Linked DNA regions of Homo sapiens: regions 1 and 3 are each linked to region 2. Evidence: promoter capture Hi-C in human tissues and cell types (Jung and others, 2019). All regions are on one chromosome and are shown on one strand. Each heading gives the region's core, a stretch centred on a gene start or on the middle of the fragment in contact. The rest is flanking DNA. Distances are from core to core; before and after follow the strand shown.

Region 1 (3,294 bases), core at 795-3,294, 160 kb after region 2:
AGTATTAATCACATCTCAGACTGCCCTGCCCTTTGAAGATTCTTTTTCTCTTGGAAGTTGCCATTTACAAGCAGATTTTCCAAATTTCTTCCATAAAACATTGGCCAAGGTTGGGACCAGAGTGTGGGGGTCGAGGGCTGGGAACTGGATCAGGTAGCAAATGGAATAGAAGAAACAAGGTGATTTACCCTGGTCCTCCTTCCACATCTGCTCTCAGCTAGGGATGACCCTGAATATAAATTATTCTGTGCCCTTTGCTGAATGAACTGCAATTTAGGAGTAGTGCTTATCCTGGTATCCTTGGAAACTGGAGATAATGATTCTCATTACAGTTAGTTTCTATATTTAACAACGTGGATGTATGTGGCTCTCTAGGCACTTTTTCAGTTAGCATAATTTTTGCTTAGTGTTTGTATTTTATAAAAATAACCTCTCTTTTTGGAATATGTGTATATGTAAAATATATGGGATGTACATATATTGTGTGAGAGTCAAGTATTTTTGGTTAAGTCAGCTTCCTATTCTGCCAAAGAAAAGATCACAAAAGACAGTTATACTTCTAATCATTTGGACCACGTTTATCTCGTTTGTTGATTAACGAGGCTCTTCTATTTGTATTCCTCCCCCTCCATCCTTTCCTTCTCTTACCACTCCTTTTCCCTCTCCCCTGTCCCTCCTGTCCCTCTCTCCACTCCTGGCTTCTTTTGTGTTTTAACTCTCTTTGCTCTCTTTAGATATTAGGTTGGTTTCCGTCAAGTAAGATAAACTCAAAGGTAACATTTGTACGGGGAACTTTAGGATGCACTATGAGAGGGAATGAGGGAGGTCTGCAGCCTCAGGCATGCTCCATTCAGCGAGCACACGACGTGGTTTATGTTTTACAGATCCCTTATGGCTGCTGCTGTGTTAACTTCGCTTGTTGAAGAAGGTTCACTGAAGTTTCCCCTTTTAAGTGCTAACATTTAAATTGTTTTAACTATTTCATACCGTTTTCTTTATTTCAGATTTACTGAAAAGTTTCAATAGTACAAGAAACTTCCACATACACTTGTGTAACCAGTTCAGTTCCCATTTTTCTTAAATATATTACTTTCCTGCTCCTTAGGCAGGTGCTATGGGACGTTTATGATGATGTTGCGCAGTCATGTAGTTCTGAATTTGCTTACGGTTTTAGTTACGTCATTTTAAACGATCATGAATTTTCAAAAGCTTAAAGGTCATCCAGGCTAACCCCTTCTGTATTTTTAAACGAAAGAGTTAAACTAAATTCCAGAGTTGCCACAAGTTCAATGTCCTTCCTCCGAGTTACCTAGCGGAGGTGTCAGCTATGACCTTAGCTGCTGTAATGCAGATGTCCAGATGTCTCCTTTTCCCAGCAAACCCCTCTCCAAATATCTTAGCCCATTGAAGTTATGCAGCAACTCTTTTTAACTTTATTATCGTTTACAGAGAGTTGACAGAGCTCTGAAAATAAGCCAACAGTCTTTACACAATTTTAGAGATTTAAAGGGCTTTGTAGTTTGGGGCTATATAGTACATATTTTTGGCTTTGCAAGCCGTGTGATCTCTGTTCCAACCACTCAACTCTGCTATCTTAGAGAGCGGCCATAGAAGATACTTTAACAAATGGGCGTGGCTTTTATTCAACAAAAATATTTGGCCAATCTTGGCCCTTGGGCAAAAGTTTGCTGAGCTTTGGAGTATGTGGGAAGCTAGACCACTAGAATCTTGAGGTTTTACTCGCAGTTTTGCTGTCTTTATTACTAAACATCCTTCAGCAGTGATTGCAGCCTGTTATATTCCACAGTGATTATAATACTTAGGGATCAGTTTGAGAGATACGCTGCCATGTTTTCATTCTTTTAAACAAACAAGAAAACAAACATCCCTAAGAACAAAATACACAAAGCCTCCTACTTGGATTCTGTGAAGTTATGACCTACCATTCATTGAAGGCCACTGCAGGCTCAAGGATAGAGACTGCTGGGGCTGTCAGTTGTTTTCCACCATGAAATGAATTTGAGCTACACAGAAGAAGAAATGTTTTCTTGTTATTGATTTTAAACTGTTGCTTTATATTATTAATATCTTGATATTCCTGATACTTAAACTATTACTTTAAAAACTGTGTAGGACAATAAAGCATTTTTCACAAAAAAAGAACAGGCAGTAGATCTTGGGAATACAGATGTTCTATTAAGTTGATGCAAAAGTAATTGCAGTTTTTGCCATTAGTTGGTTTTGCCAACTGTTTTAAATATTAAAATAGTTTTAAGTGGAATGTAAGGCACATCCATAGAAAACTGATGTATGCAAAACATTTAACGCCTACGTCACCTTAGAAATGATTACTTATTGGCCAGCACGGTGGCTCACCCTTGTAATCCCAGCACTTTGGGAGGCCAAGGTGGGAGGATCACTTGAGGTCAGGAGTTTGAGACCAGCCTGGCCAACATAGTGGAACCCTGTCTCTACCAAAAAATACAAATATTAGCCAGGTGTGGTGGTGCGTGCCTGTAGTCACAGCTGCTCGGGAGGCTAAGGCAGAAGAAATTGCCTGAACCGGGGAGGCAGAGGCTGCAGTGAGCCGAGATCACACCACTGCACTTCAGCCTGGGGTGACAGAGCGAGACCCTGTCTCAAAAAAATAAAAAATAAAAAAAAGAAATTATTAGTTGTTGGCAATATGATTCAAAATATATTCTGTGACTTTTCTTGATATTGTTGAATATTTTAAAGATTTGAATTTATGTGAATAGGGTAATAAAAACTCAACATTTCTTCAAATCAAAAATTCAAATGTATAAAACATGATATGTTCCAAACTCTTGATCCGTGCTCCCATTTTACTTTAATATAAATGGTCAAGTCGGAAAGGGGAGTAAGAGAAAGGACTCTGCTTAATGCTTTTTTGGTTCCATTTAGTGTGTCAGAGACTTCCTTTTCTTTTGATGTACTGGACAATGCAGCATTACTATTTGCTATTAAACCCTATTAGAGAAAAACATTTAAGGCAATTAGCACAGTCTTAGCATGTACAAATGCGCAATAAATGTTGAATGAATTAATCTCATAGTTTCTACTTAGTCTTATTCAATTGTATAATGCAAATAAGTGAGAGGACAGGATCTGGGGTCAAACCTCAGTTTAAACTGAGGCTTATTATGGAAAAGTTCGCTTGCAATTGCTTACTGAGAATGTCATCCATGCCATTAAATTGGTACTTGCAGGAATGTTTCCAGTAATTAAACAGAAGCTGACGGGATGGTTTCTTTATTCAAGATAATTAATTGT
Region 2 (4,974 bases), core at 1-2,500:
GAGGGAACCTCAGACAGGTGAGCCCTACAGGTAGCGAATGTGCCCACGGAAAGTTAATCTGCTACCTCTTCAGGTGAACATTTGCAAGTCTCTAGGTAGACACGTAAATGCTCGCAATCCATGCCCAGAGCAGCCCCGGGTGCATAATCAGCTGCATAACTGTGGGGCATGTTTAAAGAAGCCCGGCGCTTCCTGTTATTAATTTTTGTAAAGTGGACGGCATGGGGGAAAATGAGAAAGGAAATCGGAGAGAAACATACAGGGATTTTTTTTAAAACTGACTGCGAGGTAAGCAGTGCGAGAACCGTGATGCCGAGTGCACCAGGTCTTGGTGTCCCCGGCAGTGGGAAGGGCAAGGGGAAGGCAGGAAGGAGCTTGCGAAGCGCCCACCCTTTCTCCTCCCGCCCCCAGCATCTGGAGCTGCTGCCCTGCTAGAGGCTGCGGCGACAAACCAGCAGGAAAATTTCTCCCCGCGGCTGCTCTGGCCAGCCCTTCAGCCCCAGCCTGCGTCTTGCACCGGATGGGTCCAGGGGAGCTCCGGGCTCCGCGCGGCGATGACGCCCTTGGCAGGCAAAGAGGGAGGTGCAAGGGGAGGGAACGAGGAGCCGAGCTGGGGCGCAGATGGGGGTGGGGTCGGGATGCTAGTACGTACCGAAGAGGCTGTGGTCCTGCCGGGTGCCCTGCACGCTGCCGTCGGGCAGGATCTGCAGGTGGAAGCCGGTGCGGCAATAGAGCTGCCGGCGGCGCAGGATGCCGTGCAGGTGCGCCAGCTGCGCAGCCCCCGGCCCGCCGCGCGCGCTCCGCTCCGCCGCGCTCCTGCGCTCGCCCAGCAGCGGCGGCCGCTCCCCGGCAGGAGGCAACAGGAAATGCGAACCCACCTGCTGGCCCAAGCCCTCCAGGCCGCCCAGAAAGCCCCCGACTTCGGCTAAGGGAGCCATGGAGGGGGAGATCCGGAACACAAAAGACCCCCCCAGTAAAGAGTGTTGTGGGGGTGGGATGGAGGTGGATAGAGAAAAATTATAGCAAAACGAGCGCAAAAAGTTAAGGCCCGGTTACTCCTCTGAGGTCGCTCCGGAGGGACTTTGCACTGAAATGGCAGGGAAGCTCTCACTGTCTTGGAGCGATCTTCTCTCCTTGGGTAGGTGGGAGCCGGCTGCTGGCTCTGCAGAAATATCTATAGCTGCCGCTGCCAATACTAGGACTAGGGCTGTTGGCTGGGGCTCCAATTCCGCAAACTGATCAGATCAGAGTCCTGTGTACATACACACCGAGTATATAAGCGGGTCCTCTTGACATATGCTAATCAAGTCCTTTCATGCGCGCTGGGGAGGTTCTGTTTGAAATCTTAAACCGGTCTCCTCTCAACACGTTTTTGCTCTTCGGAAGTGACCAAAAGGGGCCCTTGGCACTTCTCCATCCATGCCCTCACAAAAACCATTCCTGCACTTGGCCAAAGCCAGCCAGCAACTTCGAGGAGGTGCAGTCGAGGCCCCTCTTTGGGGTTGTCCTTGGGACAGCGGTGATGCTGTTCAGCTGCGGCCGTGCAACCGTCTTTGATGTGAGCTTTGCAGTGATAAATCGCCTCTAAAAGGAGCCCAACTTGGCAGGGATATAGAAGAAGAGGAAGGGAGGAGGGAGGGAAGGCGGGGAGGGAGAGAAAGAGAAGGAGGGCATTGGTAGGAGGAGGAAAGAGAAAAGGAGAATTGGACTCCTTGGGAGCCTGCAGTGGACAGGTGCAAAGAAAGGTAAGCAAGGGAGAAGGAAAAAGGGCGTTACCTGGGGCTTACAGACCTGCCCAGACACACATGAAAGAAAAATCAAAGCTTTGACAGTTTAACTCACTAATTTTAAAACACTAATAAAATGTACAAGCATTGCTCCTTTCTTTTATCATTTAGATGGGGGATTTTCTTTACATAATCAAGGTTAGGTAAGGAACACCCTCCCTCCCCCTCTTTACAATTTCTCTTTAATGTTTACCTTTACTCAGCACATAATATAACCAAAATTGCCATATATATATATACATAATACACATATGTATTTTTAATTGTGTGCTAAGGTCATGAACTTCTAATTAGTGTAAAATAAAGCAAAATATAATCACGAATCAAAGGATTTACAGTAAATCCAAATAGGCTGGAAAGAAATGATTTGCATCTCTATATTTTGCCGTGAATAGAAAATGAATATCTGGAATATTGTCATAAATGATGAGTGGCTTCTTGGGCCCTTATACAATCTAAGAGCACTTTCCTGTTTTTCTTAGTTGCGTTTTTCTAAAAGCTAGATGTTTTTGTTTACATTTTAATTATAAAATCTAAAAATAACTAAATGGAAATAGTCTTGAGGCTTGATGTGTTTTGAGACTTCAAAAGTTACTGGTAAAATTGAAGAGTGCTTGAGCATATTTGTAAAATCAAAAACCATGGAAGCCAAGGAATTAGATACATGTTCATTTAAACGTTGAAACTGGTTTTGCACCACTAGTTAAATTCAAGATCTTTCTGTTAAAATTTTTCAGTGGTAGAAGAATTGAGAATCATTGGGCAGATTTATGCTTCCTCTGAGCAAAAAGTTTTAGGGAACTGATGAAGATTACTTTCTCAGTCTTGTTTCATGATCTGTTTAAAAAAAGCATAAGCCTGGCAGCTCAGTTGGATTTGACTGGTTTATTTTATTTGCTCTGAAGGATTTTTTCTAATTAATTGGCAGGTGCTCTAAAGTGGGTATAGTTACACATTTTCATCACTACAGGCCTAACTACTGACCCTTGTGTAACCAAGTTATAAAAGAGTTCTTAAAGCAAGTGATTTACTGTTGATAGATATGAAATAAAACAAAAACGCTGGCTAAAAACAATAAACAGATAAATCACTTTAGAAACGTATATTGCTAAGTCTGTTTTAAAGGTTGCACCAGGTAAATGTTGTATTATTTCACCTTTCAAATAACAGCAGTCTGTCTTGTGGTAGGACCCCAAATCCACCATAATCAAGGTTTCAAACACATCTGTGTAAACATTATCACATCAGTGTAAAACATCAACCAATGAGCTTTTACTTTGAACCAAATCTTCTTAATTGCAGTGTTAAATCAAAGAAACTTAGATCAAAGTTGTGTGAATCTCGTAGCAGGATAACTGAAGTAGCCAGTACATCCACTGATCACTTTTAAAGAGGAGATACTTAAGGGTTTTAAACTTAGATCAAGTGCCTTTTAATGAGGTTTGTTTCAAGGTCCAAGTTCTGTGCAACATATAATGCTGTTAATTATTCCACAATGGAAATATATTATCATCACCTGCTTCTAAAAGTACTAGTTCAGTCTACAAACTATTTTCCCACATGAACACTTTAGTCCTGCTGTATGAGCTATAGCTGTTAGACTGTTCAAATCTGTTGTATTGCTTATATATATACAAAAAATGGGGAATTTCTTATTCATAGTCATGAAAGTTTAAATACTTTCATAATAGAATCGCCTTCTCTTTGTACACCTTGGTATTTACATGTGTATTACCTTATTTGATCACCACAATGACCATAAGACATAGGCACATCCTGCTTTATAGCGAAAAAATATGGTCCTAAATCCCCGTTTTGCCCAGAGTCCAACATCCCAGGCCAATTTCCTTAAATTCTCTAAATGCTTTTATTTTCTCTTTTGTAAAATAAGGATAATATAACTCCAGCCTAACTACTATGCCTAGAGTTGCCATGAGACTTAAATGTAAAAATATATTGGAAAATGGTTTTAAAACTATAGTTTTCTATGCATAGAATATGCTAGAAAACTCTAGTTGTTGTGAAAATTTTTGCTTTCTAACTTAACAAATATAATTGGTCTGAAATACAAAATAAATCTTTTTTTCCCAAACCAAACCTTTAATGTGTAAGTTTGAATGGTGCTTAATGCTGTTTTATAAAGGACCAGACTAGAAACAAAAAGATAAGAATTTCTTTTGTTTGCACTAGTCATGTGACAGGAAAAGATAACACTAAAGATTTTTTTTTTTTGCACATGCTGTGATGATATCATGGGAAGTTAAATAATTTTGAAGAGTGTTTTACAAGAGTGCATTATTCAACTTTTAAGTATACATTGCAATCTAATCAACTTTACCTATGCTTCCTAGAGACCACACTTGCCTTGCTGTTATACAAATACGTGGTACAACTTCTACTTCCACAAAATGTAGTTTGAGTTTTCCAGACTATATAATCCCTATATAGGTTTTCAGATGATATATTGTCAGGAACCTTTGTTTTTACACATGAGGAGTTCATACCTTTTGAGGCTGCTACATGTGTTCAATATGAGAAAAAGAAATAGAGCTGATTTAATGGTCATGATATACATCTCCAATAAAGTAAGAGTATATTTGCACATTATTCATTATTTATAATTACAAAATATTAGCAACAACATAAATTTCTATACACAGGAAACTGAATAAATTATGGTACATTCACACAATGGAGCATTATACAGCTGACAAAGATGTCTGTGAACGAACATGGAATATTTGCAGGATACACCGTTAAGTGAAAACAGCAAAGAATATATATAGTGTCTGCCTTTTCTGTAAGAAAGAAAAAAATGAGAAACGTCTACATGTATATGCTTATTTATTCTAAAAATAAACACAGAATGGATAAACCAAAAATTAATGAACTTGGTTACCTGGTTAGTTGGTTAGCAGGGGATGGATATGAATGGAGTGGAAGGGTTGGAGGAGTGACATTCATCTGAGAACTTTTTATAGAGTTTTGACTTTTGGAGAAATGTTAATGTTTTACATTTTTTTAAAGTAAAATAAAATAAAATAAATGAGAGAGAAGTGGGGATGGAATAAAAGCAGGAACAAATGAACCTAACTGTATTAAAGTGAGTAATATAACCACACATGAGGGATGAATAACATATTAAAAAAAAGAAAGAAAGAAACTCAAATAACTATCAAATTCTGTC
Region 3 (4,799 bases), core at 663-3,162, 190 kb before region 2:
CCATTCCGTTTTTCATATTCAGTACAGTATTCAATACATCACATGAGCTATTCCACACTTTATTATAAAATAGACTCTCTATTAGATGATTTTGCCCAACTGTAGGCTAATGTTAATGTCCTGAGCACGTGTAAGGTCAGCCCATTTAAACTATAATGTTCACTGGCTACATGTATTCAATACATTTTCAATTCACAATATTTTGAACTTGACAATAGATTTATCAGGACATAACCCCATTGTAAGAAGAGGAGCATCTGTATGTCTATAAATAGATAATATATGTATATGGATATAGACACCTATATTTAAATATATACAGGCAATCTGTATATGAAATTGATAGATATAAGATATTCATGCACACATAATCACCTGCCAGATTATAGCAATACCAATTTGAAATTTTAGGTACTACTTGTTTAACTGGGAAGCAATTTTCTAACCTACACAAACGAGAAAACACTAAATGAAAAGTTAGATCTGCACAAAACCCAAGTTTATAATTATACTGTGATAAAGTCAATTTTAACCATTCAGTGATTTAAATGACTAATACAAAATGTCTCACAGCCTTTGTGATCAAGCTACTGAAAATAAATCATTTTATTTACAGCTATCCTCCTTATCCAAATCAGTGCCAGAAATATTGTAGGAGATCAAGACATTACTGTAGAAAGAAAAGTTTTCAACCAGATAGAGGCATCCACTGGCAAAAAATGAATATGCTAACTATAAACAATTTTGAACTATTTATTCAAACAAGAACCGCTGTATGCCCTGCCTTTAAGTCTCTAAGTCACTTAAGAGTCAGGCTATACCTGTAAGTAGTTTGACAAATTTTTTTTGTTTTTCTAAATTTTTTAATATAGATTCTCTTTCCTTCCTCAAGGCACCCCAAATTAATGAGGTCCTGCAATTATTCATACTGCAAATATATGACGACATTCTGTTTATACTATTGTCATGGAGTAAATGATGGCATAAGCATCAATATATTTTATTATTCTAATGTGTGATTACTCAAACATTTATGTCAGAGACACACTCAACAGAATGAAAGAAAAATGTGATGACTGCTGACTTGCATGAAATATTCTGTATTAAATTATCCCATGGGGGTAGCCTACACAGCAGCTAAGAAATCCTTGAATTATTAAGGAAACAGTTATTTCTTTCATGATTTCTCAAGAATTTGGGTTTCTACATTTTAATAACCTTCGAAAGTGATTTTTTTAATTTAATGGAAATCTGAGTATAGTCTTAGAATCCTAAAAGGATGTGTGTGTATATATATATACACACACACACATATACATTAAAGGAAAAACAGTATATTCAATGATAAGATTCGCATTTAGATTAAACTGTCAATTTTAATTGTGTCTTTGCAGGACAATGAAAGTTTTTTTTTAATGTTCGTTTACACTATCAATAGCACAAAACCTTCCTGATTTTCTTCGGTCTTACATTCAGTTAAAAAAATATGATTTTTATATTGTAATTTTTGCAATAAAGATATTTTTCTACAATGTAGAAATCTGTCTATAGCAGCACTCTTCAGCTAAATAAAAATAGCTATTGTTTCTACTGCAAAACCCACATAATACAACGCGTTTTCTGCATTTTCTGAACCAAGTCTCTAATAAGAAACAAACATCTAAGATTACCATTAAACATAGATACGTTTTGAAAGAGACTAATCTTGCTTGAGTCAAATTAAATAGGGTTAGACATGAAGGTCCACGTGAATGGTCTACTTCCTGTTCTGTCTCAAGCAAAGTACCTGCCTAGTGCAGTTCTGAGTCTGCAGCTGTCCTCTTCCCCCGAGTCTGACTGATGAAGGAGTCTTTTGTTCTACCGATAAGTGATACATTGTGTATTGCTCAGGTGCCTTGAACAAAAAGTACAGGGCAACACAATGAGCTTCTCTACAGCCAGCTTTAAGAAGACGAAGAATAAAAGTAAAACTAGCTTTACCTGAGATGTGTACTTTTCAATGAAACTTTCCTTTCCCATTCTAAAGGAAAATATCATTTTGTGTGTTTATAAAAGCTTATTCTATAGTTTGTCCCTCACCCCCCACATCCCGATTCTGTGATAAAAGCAACAGGAACAGAGGTTCTCTTTTATTAAAATGGTTAATTTGGGTGAATTGCTGGCTTTTTGAAGGGGATTGTTGGAGTGACTTTATCTGAGCTAAGTTGCCTCACTTAATGTGTCTAAACAATCAGATATAGTCATTTAAATAACCATCGATTCTATTATTTATCAATGTAGAAGGAAGATATTTAAATCTTTTTTATATGTTCTTAAATTCACCTAATTTTTTCCTTTTTTCAACATATTTCTAAATGCAAAAATATAAATATATAAATAAATCATTTAATAATATTTTTAAAGCCTACAATTTTTTTTTTTTTTTTTTGAGTCAGAGTCACCTAGGCTGGAGTGCAATGGCGTGATCTCGGCTCACTGTAACCTCCACCTCCCGGGTTCAGATGATTCTCCTGCCTCAGCCTCCCAAGTAGCGGGGACTATAGGCGCCTGCCACCACGCCCAGCTGTTTTTTGTATTTTTAGTAGAGACGGGGTTTCACCATGTTGGCCAGGCTGGTCTCAAACTCCTGACCTCATGATCTGCCTGCCTCGGCCTCCCAAAATGCTCGGATTACAGGCGAGAGCCACCGTGCCCGGCCAAGAATGTTTTTAAAATTAATGTAGGATATATAATTTACTTGGTGAAGTCATGTTTTTTATTTAAATAAAATATTTGCATTTTTCTAGAGATATTCTTAAATCACAATGTAAAAAAGCATTCAATAAAATATTTGTATTTTTCTAGAGACATTCTGAAACTACAAAGTAAAATAGCATTCAATAAAATATTTGTATTTTTCTGGAGATATTCTGAAACCACAATATAAAAAAGCATTCAATAAAATATTGTATTTTTTAGAGATATTCTCAAACCACAATATAAAAAAGCATTCAATAAAATATTTGTATTTTTCTAGAGATTCTGAAACCACAATGTATAAAAGCATTCAATAAAATATTTGTATTTTTCTAGCGACATTCTGAAACCACAATGTAAAAAAAAACATTCCTGGGGGCGGGGGGGACAGTAACATTTCTTTTTCAACTCTCCTTTGACCAGTAGAGCATGATGCCCATCAGGGACATTTTGGCTTGACCCAAATGGTGTGTGCAGATTCTAGCTACTATAAACCACACTGTTCTATGGCTTGACAAGTCCACTTCATCAAGAAAAAAAAAAATGCACTACATTATTGATGATTATCACAGCAATTGCATGGATTAGTGCCGTCACTGAGTTTTTCTCATCCATCTTCCACACCAGGTTATTACATTTATATGATTTACAAATCTGTGATTCTTAGAATCACTAAAATCAGTACAGAAAGTGTTCAATATAGCATTTCCATCTTTGGTAAGTTCACAAAATATTTGTTGGATAATGAATAAAAGGCTCTCCAACATTGTGACTTTATATGCTGTGTTTCCAATGGCTCCTTAAACCTTTTAGATGCACCACTGGCATTATTTGCTGTGTTATAAAATCTATTAAATGTTTACACACTTTTTTTTTTTTTGAGACAGAGTTTCACTCTTCTTGCCCAGGCTGAAGTGCAATGGCTCCATCTTGGCTTACTGCAACCTCCGTCTCCCGAGTTCAAGCGATTCTCCTGCCTCACCCTCCCTAGTAGCTGGGATTACAGGCGCCCACCACCAGGCCAAGCTAATTTTTTTGTATTTTTAGTAGAGACGGTTTCACCATGTTGGCCAGGCTGGTCTTGAATTCCTGACCTCAAGTAATCCGCCCGCCTCGGCCTCCCAAAGTGCTGGGATTACAGGCGTGAGCCACCGAGTCCAGCCAGTTTACATACATTTCAACACAGTATAAGTATGTATCAAATGTTTGTACACTTTATATGTAAATGCTTGGTGGGCAGAATTTATATGTTTTATTAACCTATAAATCACAAGAGCCTATAACAGAGCCTGGCAAACAGTGGTGCAATATTTGCTTAAGTAATTGATAATTAATTGGCAATGAGATGGTAAATACAGACCTTAAGGTTATGTAGAAGATTCTATAATTTCCACCTAGTCAAATACTGAATATTAATACTAATTTTGTTTATTATTTTATTCTTAATTCTACCCAAAATAAACTAAATATTTTTTATTTCTTTTACATGGGATTCCAAGTTCTACAATAAATTGGGATATCACAGAGAGGTGATGGTATCATTTTCTAGAATTTTCCTTCTAGAGACCCTCTGCATGAAAGAAACTAGAATTCTAAAATGTAAAACACTTTTATTATACCTTATGAACACAAATTTAAATAATCAGCATGTTAGTGGTTCAAGATATGAAATGAATACTGCCCTTTTCATTTCTGATAGCATTGAGAATGTTACAATCAAAAAGTTCTAAAAACTATGTACAACTATTATATATAAATAAGAGAAAAACTTCTAATCTTACTCAATGTTGCTTTAAGTTTGGGCAATAGAGAAAGAGAAACAAAGAAAAGCAATACTTCTTCATATGTTTACCATCACTTTTTACTGGGACCATCAAGGTCAAATGCTTGTCAATGTCTTAAATTTAGATAACAACAAGTTGAAATTTTCTTAGACGTGTTTATTTCTTTTGGTAATCCAAATGCCACAGTTGCCCTCTAGGGTCATTTTGAAGCTCTTAAGTGACCCTGGATGAACCATTCCTTTCAAATCCTTTTCTCAAGCCATACATTTGGTAAAAGAA

Evidence for each region. Contacts are between HindIII fragments. The study calls those that stand out against the background at their distance.
Region 1: a contact is called between a fragment that was not itself captured here and the fragment with the promoter of FGF20 in region 2, in 2 of the 25 tissues and cell types used here (H1 embryonic stem cells and dorsolateral prefrontal cortex).
Region 3: a fragment that was not itself captured here is called in contact with the fragment with the promoter of FGF20 in region 2 in 1 of the 25 tissues and cell types used here (stomach).

What each region holds. Positions count from the first base shown.
Region 1 is chr8:17,159,220-17,162,513 of GRCh38, forward strand. The region is part of intron 1 of ZDHHC2 (zDHHC palmitoyltransferase 2); the gene reads left to right. Among named protein-coding and RNA genes, the nearest start is that of ZDHHC2, 4.4 kb to the left of the region's middle. The HindIII fragment of the contact is 5,380 bases long and covers 1-3,294 here.
Region 2 is chr8:17,001,095-17,006,068 of GRCh38, forward strand. It overlaps FGF20 (fibroblast growth factor 20), which reads right to left and starts at 1,251. Exons shown (of 3, transcript NM_019851.3): 1 at 653-1,251. The coding sequence starts at 938. RefSeq lists a silencer at 768-837. The HindIII fragment of the contact is 12,794 bases long and covers 1-4,974 here.
Region 3 is chr8:16,809,252-16,814,050 of GRCh38, forward strand. All of the region lies in intron 2 of LOC105379297 (a long non-coding RNA gene), which reads right to left. Among named protein-coding and RNA genes, the nearest start is that of FGF20, 190 kb to the right of the region's middle. The HindIII fragment of the contact is 6,554 bases long and covers 1-4,799 here.